Regions from separate parts of the Homo sapiens genome. Here regions 1 and 2 are each linked to region 3. The links are contacts of gene promoters, found by promoter capture Hi-C in blood cells and fetal thymus (Javierre and others, 2016). All regions are on one chromosome and are shown on one strand. Each heading gives the region's core, a stretch centred on a gene start or on the middle of the fragment in contact. The rest is flanking DNA. Distances are from core to core; before and after follow the strand shown.

Region 1 (3,480 bases), core at 628-3,127, 870 kb before region 3:
AATGCAGAAAATGATTTCAGCAAGAGAGATACAGAATTGCTTCTTTTGTCCTAATAGCTCTGAGCTTGGTGACCCAGAAACAGGATGTCTCTGTTTTCTGTTTTATCAAGGCAAAAAGAAATAAACAACATACATGTTTACATTTGGTTGTCATCAAGTCTCTACAAAGACCTTCCTCTCCTCTGTGTTAGTCTGTTCTAGGTTCTGAAAGACAATAGGAAAGACGTTATAGCTGCTTTATACCTACAAAGAGTAAATATCTTCCCATCCCACACATTCTGCCTCCAGGTCTAAGTGCACATTTTCTTTGAGGATCTGCTTCTTTTAATCACACTTCTTAGAGAGGTGACTATGAGGGTTACATGGTAAAACAAAAGATAAAATAAAAGCACATTCTACATAGGAGTAGTGTCTGGCACGGGATACTTTCCCAGAAAACGTTAGTTCTGTACACACACACACACACACACACACACACACTCACAGACTTTTTGTTTCCTAACTTTGCATTCTAAAGCAAAATAACATGTTTCCTGTCATTAGCTTTACTTTCTTTATCTATGCTTTTAAATGTTCCATGTGGCATCTGTTTTCCTCTACTTATGTTCTCAAAATATAAAAGGTCATTTAATACTAATAAATTATATCTAGAGAGTAAAAGTAAAGACATTTGCTTTGGGTTACTAGCTCATGTTTATCCAAGTCACATTCAGATGCAGTCCCTTCTGCAAGTCATTGACATATTTAGATAAATGGGATAACACATTTCAATGAATATGGGAAAAGCCAATTCACCAGAGGCAAGAGTGAAGTATTATGGGGAAATTCATTTCCCTTGCCTTTTGCCCTTCATTAACAAAAATGAATGAGGAACTGAGATCATTAAAGAGCTGGTTGAAAATCAAAGAGCAGAATAACAGTGTTACCAATAAACAAAGTCTTAAGAATAATAACAGGATAAATAATGTAATACTCAATAGGCCTGTTTCTGCTAATCCCCATTAAAGGACGAATCTTAGCACTGAGAATTCTAGCAAGATATTTGACAGGATAAGTACTGATTGAGAGTTTAGTTAACATTTCTTTTGAGTTTAGATTTATATCTGTCTTATATCTTAAAGAACATGCTGGGAAACTACAATAAGATATGTATTCTTTCTCAGGGAGTAGACTCCAGAGAAAGGGCTTATCAGAATACTTTACAATAATACCACTTTATCTTAAATAATATAATCCTGTAAAAGCAATACATAGGGAGAAAGGACTAGTGAATATAATACACTTTGTTTCTTCAAGTCACAAGAGAATAACTTGTTTTTGTTACTTGGCTGAGATCTTTCCTGGTAAATTGCAAATCCCTCACTCTTTGTAATATTCTTTACAGGTCTACAAGAAAGGATAAAAGAATTGAAAGCTTCAATATTGTCCCTAAACCATAAAGCCTACTGAATTCCTCCTAGTAGCTTCAAGTCACCGTAATAGAAATTGTGTGACAGGTTTTAGACAGGTCTATAAATAAAATTAATGAGCAAATTTTAGCATACTTTTAAAGCATAATAAGACCTTATAAGATTGTGTTAATTGCTAAATAATCATCATATTCTGCACATGTTGTATATTTTCTATTCTTAAGTATGACTAGCCGATGTTTCTGTTCAAGTTCCCTAGTATTAATAAATATGTCTATAGAGTTTGGAAATAAAGATAATCTTTAAAAAAGAAACAAGTAGCAACACATAATAGAGGAAATTAGTTATTTTGGTAAGTTACCCTCCTAATGCTTGTAAGTGTGTTATTGGGTAGTTTAGTAAAACAGCAAATAAACATACATGCAATAATCAGAGTGACTGAACAAAGTATGAAAAATTAAATGAAGTCAAAACAGTTTTTTTAAATAAGATTATTTGATGAAAAACAATTTTAAAAAGAGTATATTATCTACATATAATACAGAAAATGAAGGACCTAAAACCCACGCACTTAGCAAAATTTTTCTCACTTTTCAGGGAAAAGAGTGAGAAATAGGCAGTTGAGTAATTAGAGGCTGAGCACTCCATAATGCGGGAGGGAGAGTCCATCAATCTCTTTGAAAACCTGGGCAGAGTTATTATCTCTTCAACTACCACATCCTTTTCACGTCATCTACTTAGAGTGATTAGAATTCCTAAGCAACAGGATGCTAGAATTGATGGTTTCTAATTTGTCCAAAGGGTCTTTGCTGAACACCTACTATAGGGCAGGCAGAGATGACATAAAAAGTAATCAAAATTAATCCATGTTATTTCAAATGATTTCTTTAAAATTTAATTTTATGATTTATCGGACCAGTAGTCCTACATTTAAAGCTTTAATTAATTAATTTTCATAATTATTAAACATAAACCGTATAACTGGAGTTCTGTACCTAGTAAGTACAAGTAAGTTTATGCCAGATTGGCTTTTTCCACACATACAAACTAAAAATGGACAAAATAAAAAATACCAAAAGCAAATAAAAAATGAACACATGCTGGCAAAATGTGGAAGGAAAATGACCCTTGGTAGAAAAAAAAATGCATGAGTTAACTTTCCTATATGTATTGACCTTCAGCTTCAGAATGGGCTGGAGTTGGCACTGCGTCTACAGAAAGCCCAGATTATGTTTGACTTGAAGAAATACAGGACTTTTTTTTTTTTTTTTTTTTTTTTTTTTTTTTTTTTTTTGAGATGGAGTCTCGCTCTGTGGCCCAGGCTGGAGTGCAGTGGCGCGATCTTGGCTCACTGCAAGCTCCACCTCTGGGGTTCACGCCATTCTCCTGCCTCAGCCTCCCAAGTAGCTGTGACTACAGGTGCCTGCCACCACGCCCAGCTAATTTTTTGTATTTTTAGTAGAAACGGTGTTTCACCGTGTTGGCCAGGAAGGTCTCTATCCCCTGACTTCGTGATCCGCCCGCCTCGGCCTCCAAAAGTGCTGGGATTACAGGCGTGAACCACTGCGCCTGGTCGGAAATACAGGGCACATTTAGGGAAAACCACAGCCATTGGAAAATGTGATAGGTTGGGTGGGGAGGGGAATTCTATCAAGCAGAGAGCAAGGATAAGTACCCCTAATAAACCCTGTCATTTTTTCCTTTTGACTCCAAAATCACACTTAACAGCCCAGGTAAAATTTAAAAACAAAAACAAAAACTTGAGATCTGAGGTGCCATCCTCAAAATGCCAGAATTATTTATAGAAATATAAAAAAACTATAGTCCTCACAAAATAATATTCACAGTGTTCAGGATACAAACCAACATTGCTTAATAAATAAAGAAATATAAAAAGTGCCACATTCTAAAAAGAAAAGATAATAAAGGGGAAACCAATCTGAGATCATGTAAATAGCAGACTATGATATTAAAATAGCTGTTATAATGATCTTCAATGAGCTAAAAAATTTCTAGCAATAAATGAAACTATAGAAAATCTTAGCAGGGAAACATAAACTACCAAAAATAG
Region 2 (3,369 bases), core at 120-2,619, 830 kb before region 3:
GCCTTGGCTGAGCTATCTTGCCAGCCTCATCTAAACAAAGCGCCCCTTCCTGACTTTGCTCCAGGCCTTGGGGCCTTCTTTCTGTTTCTCGAATGTGTGCTGTGCTTTCTGCCTGTGCTCTAGTGTTCTCACTCCTCAGTGAATCAGCTCTCCTGACCCCTTCAGGTGTCAGCTTGGTCAGCAATTCCTTGGAAAAGCTTTTCCAGACCTTCCGAACTACCGCAAACCTGATCCTCATGCCTCCAGAGTTCAGAAATGCAAAATAAAAAATAAAGATCATGTCCTACACTTCACAAATGTAATATATCAAAAATATACCAGTTTAGTGAGGTTATGGGAAAATATGCCCTGTGTTCTTTCCATTTCTTCTTCCACAAAGGTCTTTCCATTTCCTCTTCATCATTATAGCTCTTATACATTGCTGATTAAAGCACATGTGAGCTATAATGTGGGTTTTATACACCATTAAATTTATAAAAAGGATAAAAAGCACATATACACTATGAAACAAATTTTGTAATAATACAATACTAATAAGAGCATAATTTTGGTATATATTGCTGGAAAGTGAATAAATATATACCTAAAAGAGGAAGAACCACTATTATAACTGTATGTTTCAGTCAGTGGCAATATAAAGTATACTCAGAAAATATGCCCTTTAAATACTATGCTATATTAAGGCAATACAATTCATTCTTAGAATAATTTCAAAATTCACCAAAATGCTTAAAGATCTCTATAGATTATGTTTGGATAGAGAAACTTCAAATTAGTTTCTGGAAAATGAATTTAATGCGTTGAGTAGAATTAGAGAACAGACTCTCACTAAAAGCCTAGACCTATTTTCTGGAAATTTCCGTTGACTGTAACTAATGCAGCCACTTACTCTAATGCTATGTTTAGTTGTACTCTGCCACCACTCAGTTGTTTCTATCTGGCGTATCATGTGTGCTTATCCTCTCAGAGGTGGGCTATTCCAGGAAATTGCCTGTCAGACATCTGAACATCTACTGTTCTGGGGGTAATCTGGCTTTTTCCTATATTATTAGGTGAATTAGACAAAGAGATTTGTGCCTTATGAAAAAAACTCAATCAGATTTAAAAATATATAAAACATTCTTATCTATAAAAACAGAATAGATGGATAGAATTAAACTCTAATTATAGACATTGTCATACAAAGAAACATGCAAAATTAGAAAACTAGAACAAATGAGCATTTTGTGTTTTAATTTTTACCTAGAAGAAGAATTGAAAAAGTATACTTATTTTTAAATGAGAAAAAAAAACACTAATAAAAGTCAGGAAAAGGAAAAAACAAACATACCTGACTTTTCTCATTGTGTTCTATTTTAGATCCTAAGCACAAGTTATTTACTTTTTTAGACTTGGGTGTGGAGATTAAAGAGAAGGGACCGTAATATATAAGAGACAGCTCTTGGGATTTATCATCAATCACCTTGGGGTCATATTCTGATCAATCATGTAATCTCAGATAAATTACGTCCCATGTCTAAATTTTTGTTTTCCATAAATATAAGATGGAGATAATGAACATTCTTGTCCTATGTGCTTCCTAGGGTTGAGTCTATGATAAAATGTGGTAATGTATGTAGCAATTCTTTATAAATTACTAGGCAAATAATAATTATATTATCATTGTGTTAATTCTGAGTTTGGAAGGGGATCCTCCAATTCTCTGCAAATACTGATGCCATAAAAATTTATGAAGATCATTAAGCCTTATTCACTGCTTTGTGGAAGAGGAAATTGAAAGAACACAGGACATACTATACTATTGGACGTTTCTTTAGAATTGTCCTTGATGGCAATTTGGATTCCAAGTGGCTACTTCACCACTGTGCTATGAATGCAAGAACTGAAGCCTGCACAATGAAGCCCGAGCTTTTGAGGTGAATCTTATCTTGTTAGGGTGAGGTGGACAAAGAATGATATTAAAAGTGTATTTCTAAAAGACAGGATATGCAAGACCTTTAATGTCAATCTCTTATGGGAAGTATCACATTTTTATTCTGTATAAAGAATTGTGTTTTCATTATATCTCTGCATGTTAAAATATAGAGAAATCTGGTCAACAAGTGTGGAAATTCAATGAATCTATTAGCCATCACCTTTAGCTGTGGACTTTGGCCATGTTTGGCTATTTGCCACATTCAGTTAAGGAATCTTACAGGGAATAGATTTAGTAGGACTGTGAGGAAAGACTTAGGAATAATTTAAGGAATAAAGCTCTTGGGTTGGTCAAGAAGGATCTAAACTTAAGGGTCTAGGATGCAGGTCTTTATTTACTACAGATAGAATAACGGAAAAGAATAAGCAAAATAAAAATGTTAAAAATAGTAGACAGAAGAAACAATGGGCACTGTATATCTGTCCCCTAAGAAAATGCCAAATTCAAATCATCCTCTGGAGTTAAGTTGCCCTTTTCTCCTATCCTGTCTCCCACGTGAATGAAATGGACACAGAGTTTCATTTTCAGTGGACGCGTACATTTGCAGTATCTCAATGGGTTATAAACAAGCTTCATATAAAGGTAGTAAAATGTATTATTAACCCCCAAAGATATAATTGCCTTGTACATAAGGCAGTGATGATAGCATAGAAATGAAAATATTCAAAAACTCTCATTTCAGGCTCAGGTGATGCAAGTAACCATGGTAACGTTTCCTGACAGCCTTAATTTAAATAGCAGATTCCAAAGAAAAAATTCCAAATGGACTCCAGAAAGGAAATGGATTATTCAAGGTCCACATAAATCTAATTTAAATAAGTGCTTTACACAAAAATGGAAAGTCTTTAAGTTATAATGTCTTTAGCTTTGTGTTCAACTTTGATAATGATTTCTTTTCTTTTGAATGTATTTATTCACAATGATTCTTAGGTAGCAATCAAAAGCTTTCTATTGCTTTCCTGGTCACTGCAATCTATGGAATGATGCTATGCCAATGTCACAGAGAACAATATATTAAAAATAGAAGCAGCATCCAAATTCACAAGAGTTTTGATATGAGAATTTTGAGCAAACCAAATAGCTAGTTAACACAGCCATTGCTTTTCAATTCCCTATGTCCACAAAGAGATACACTTTGGAGCTACACATTTACAAGAAGGACATTTCCATAAATACATACATATTACTTCTATGTAGAAGTTTGGCTCCAAATTCTTATAGGTTCTCTCACCCTATTGAGCTGGACTCATTCATCATGCATAAGCTCATTCTGACTTTTTAGAAACAGATTAGATTTGAGCCACACATAAACCTGTTCCTCCATGTTTTCTTACTTCTTTCTGTTTTTGTTCCTACTTGTCTTTCTAAGGCGGAGAGCACATTCTTAGCTGAAT
Region 3 (3,629 bases), core at 658-3,157:
TCCACTCCAAGTGTTCTTAATACTGTGTATTGTCACGTGTATTTAAAGAAGAAATGCCAACTCCTGTTTTTGAGACTTGCTTGTTTGTGGGTGCAGTGGGAAGGGAAAATAGCCAGGTTAATTAGAATCTTTGTATCAGTGGCAGGTAGCCTTTTATTTTCAATACTCTAATAACAGTGACTTCAACCTAAAGGTTCATATCATCAAAATAGAAAACAAATTTGTGGAAAATAAAAAATAAGATTTTTTAATACTTTTAATATGCAAAAGCCTGTAGCATAGACTAGTGTTTTGAAAGTCACAATGGGGTTCACTTGGAATTTGTTTTAAAGACAATGTGTATTTGAAGTGTACATGTTATGACTGTGCAAGAGATGGAAAGATAGAAATTTATGTGGCAATGTGTACTGCATTAACCGCAGAGACAGTGGAGTTAAGAAAGTCTAAAAAACAAGCCTTATTTTCTCAAGGTCATCCCTTCTTGACACTTTCATCCCCTACTCCTTACTGCAGAATCCCAGGTGCCTGCTCAGACGGCCTATTCTGTTAAGCTTTTGGGGAGAATATATTAATATTTCAGAAATAACACACAGAAGAATAAAACAGGAACTGTGTTTACTTGAGTTCTTTAAAAGCTCTTGGATGACTCTTTGACTGATGAAATAGCAATCTATACAGATCCCCTGAGTATTGAATGCTGAAATCCAGCAGAAAGGGGACACAAAAAATTTTCTTTGACCTCTTCTGTAACAGTGATGTCTGCCCCAGATGTTAGAATTACAAGTCACATTGCTCCCAAGGGGTACAGTTCTCTTCGGTTTATCCCACACGACTCTACTCAGCAGGAGATGCTGTCTGTTACATAATAGTTCTCAGTATTAAAGGGTACAATAACTACACCCTTTCTCATGGTAAAGCTATGTCCAAAGACACATGGACATCTACCCAATGTCTCTTTTCTCCCTTCTCTCCTTCTCTCTCTCTCTCTCTCTCACAGACACACACACACACACACACACACACACACACACACACGCGCGCGCGCCTAAAGTACCTGCCACCTAATGATTAGCTAAAAATAAAGCAAACCTGCGCAATACAGATTTGGAAACATTAGGGATGGAAATCATGTTGGGAAGGAACAGAAGGACAGGTTTTCTCTTCTTCTTTTGTGTGGGCTTTTTTCCCGTCTTTTTTTTTTTTTAACCTGTGACAATTCGTTTTTAGCCCTTCGTCTTCTCTTTGCTATTGAATATAGTCTTGAGCAGCGTTGATTTCATTTCAGCTTCACTCCCCTGCTCCTGCCACTTGCCCACACCCACAGCTGCCACTCCTTGGAGTGGGGAAACTTCCCTTCTATTCTGCTGGGCTCATTACCGCAGACGCTGTTGCCTCTCCTGAACATTGGGTCAGCCTCCCCACCTCCACTCTTCCTTACTTCAAAGAGGTGCAAAGGAAGAGCAGTGTTTTGTCTTTTTTCTTTCTTTCTTTCTATCACCACACCACCCCCCACCGTCCCCCACCCCAAACAAAGATAAAACCTGAGAGTCGAAGCTTGTTCTCAGGAATACTAAGAACTTAGGGGCACAGCCATCCTCACACCAGTCCAAGACTTCTCAGAGTTCACTACACAGGGTTGAGGGCTGGACCGGCAAAACTCGATTTGCCCATCAAGTTAACTTGGTCGGCCTGGGACCCGAGGCCAGGGTGAAGGGACGACATCCCGGGGCCCTGTGGCTTCTCCCTAGAGCGCCCAAACAGCGGCGTAGGTCTGGGACGCCCCCGGCCCCCGGCTTTGGAAGAGGCTGGCGCGGAGCAGGCGCCTTGGAGCAGGGTCTCGGGGGTCCCCGGAACAGTCACGTGTTCTCGAGACGCCGTTAAACCCCCGCCCCCTCTTCCCCACCGCCGCCTCCAGGTCCTGCTCCCGCTGCTGCCGCCACCGCCGGGGTGCAGGAGCGATCGCGCTGGGCCGCGCTCCCGGGAGCCCAGGGCCTGCAGCGGCCGGGGCGCCCCGAGGTACGGGCTCCCGCCCCTCCCTGCCAACCCCTTTCGCGCCGGGTAGGCCTGCACCGAGGGGCCGTGGCGGGTCCCCGCGCGGGCTGCGAGTCTGCGCAGGTCCCTGGGAGCCCGCACCCGTCTCTGGTGCCAGGGCGTTGTCGGGGGTCCCAAGAGAGCGGGGTGGGGAAGGTGAAGGGAGCGCGGCTGGAAAAATGGGGATTAGGGTGGCGGAACAGGCACTTGTCAGGAGTGAAGAGACAGCGGAGAGGGTACTGGGCTGAATTCTTTCGTGCCGAGCAGGTCCCTCCGGTTCCCAACTCACCCGGGTGGAGCAGGCGCGGGCCGAACCCGGGAGGAGAGTGTCGGGGATCCGCGAAGGAGCCTCCTGGGGATGGGGCGGGGGATGGACAAAGCGCTGCCCCCGGCTGGACGCGCTCTGGCTGCAGCCCGGCTGGCATCCGGAGCTGGGAACAGCAGCCCGCGGGGTGCCCGGGTCAGGGCTCAACCCTAGCGGGTCTCTGGCGAGGCCGGGGGCGCAGCCCGCGGGGCGCCACTCAGGCCGTCCAGCTGCCGCGCGGTCCAGCGCTGACCCGAGCCCGGGAGGCAGCTGCGCTCTAAGGTTTGCGCTCCTGTTTGCGAGGTGTCTTCATATAACAAATGCGAGCAATAACAAACATCCATAGAACTCGAATTCCAGAAACGGGAATTCTTTTTTCCAAGTTCACAGACCTTTAGTTAATCTTTTAAAGGAACTGAGGCGTTGTGTTGGACCAAAGCCAAAACGATTTTACCTTAGACCATGGAAAATAGCCTAAGGCTCTTTCAGCAGAATTTTGCAGTCCGAATGCAATTTTAGATTTCAGATTTCTCAAGGGAAGAGAAACTCTGCTGTTAGAATTTGGAAGGGAGGGTGGTGCATGCCTGTGTGTTTGTCAGCTGAGCAGAGCTGTATTTATCTTTCCAATTCAAATTGTGCCAGATTCTGGCTTTAAGAACAAACCATGGGAATATTTGAGAACATGGAATCATGCTGCTGTTCCACGATCACAGCAAAACAGACAATAGTTGATATTGTATCATTGCAGGAGGAAAAAGAATTACATATATTTTATTCTTTTGTGTGATTGTCATCCTTTGTGAAAAGAATGATGTGTATTTTCATAAAGCAAAAAATTATTCAAACAAAGAAACCTTATTTAAATGTACAAGTCAGACTTTTAATATCCTTTGAATTCCCTGCAGTTCCTCCTATTATTCTTGAGAACTATCTACTTTCTTAAAATACTTAAAATCTATTCAGAAGGTTTCATTTGTCTAGGTGTCAGATATAGAAGAGTTTATAAGAAAATTCCAGTAAACCTTTAAAAAGATATTATTTTTTATAAGTTGCCATAGTTTAATAAAGAACTTTTATTTTTCACACTTTTTACTCAGAGATTAAAGTTCTGTGTTTCAGCCTGGAAATTCTGATGGTGGGAGATACAACTAATACAAAAGAGAATGAGTAAATATAGTAATTAGGTATGACAAAAGTCTCATGCTGTCAATATCAGATTTCTTGTCAAATAATATTCCATGTTAAAATATTTTTTCTCTGGCTATATTTCATAATTTATATAGCAATTTCAGAA

The links. Contacts are between HindIII fragments. The CHiCAGO score rates a contact against its expected background, and 5 or more counts as called.
Region 1: a fragment that was not itself captured here is called in contact with the fragment with the promoter of NPY5R in region 3 in 1 of 17 cell types (megakaryocytes); the score reaches 6.1 in megakaryocytes.
Region 2: a contact is called between a fragment that was not itself captured here and the fragment with the promoter of NPY5R in region 3, in 4 of 17 cell types (endothelial precursors, erythroblasts, M1 macrophages and 1 more). The highest score is 8.6, in endothelial precursors.

The regions. Positions count from the first base shown.
Region 1 is chr4:162,469,410-162,472,889 of GRCh38, forward strand. No RefSeq gene overlaps it. Among named protein-coding and RNA genes, the nearest start is that of FSTL5, 310 kb to the left of the region's middle. The HindIII fragment of the contact is 931 bases long and covers 1,413-2,343 here.
Region 2 is chr4:162,510,217-162,513,585 of GRCh38, forward strand. No RefSeq gene overlaps it. Among named protein-coding and RNA genes, the nearest start is that of FSTL5, 350 kb to the left of the region's middle. The HindIII fragment of the contact is 2,348 bases long and covers 196-2,543 here.
Region 3 is chr4:163,341,985-163,345,613 of GRCh38, forward strand. It overlaps NPY5R (neuropeptide Y receptor Y5), which reads left to right and starts at 1,908. Exons shown (of 4, transcript NM_006174.4): 1 at 1,908-2,016. It also overlaps a transcript of NPY1R not described here. The HindIII fragment of the contact is 4,145 bases long and covers 1,553-3,629 here.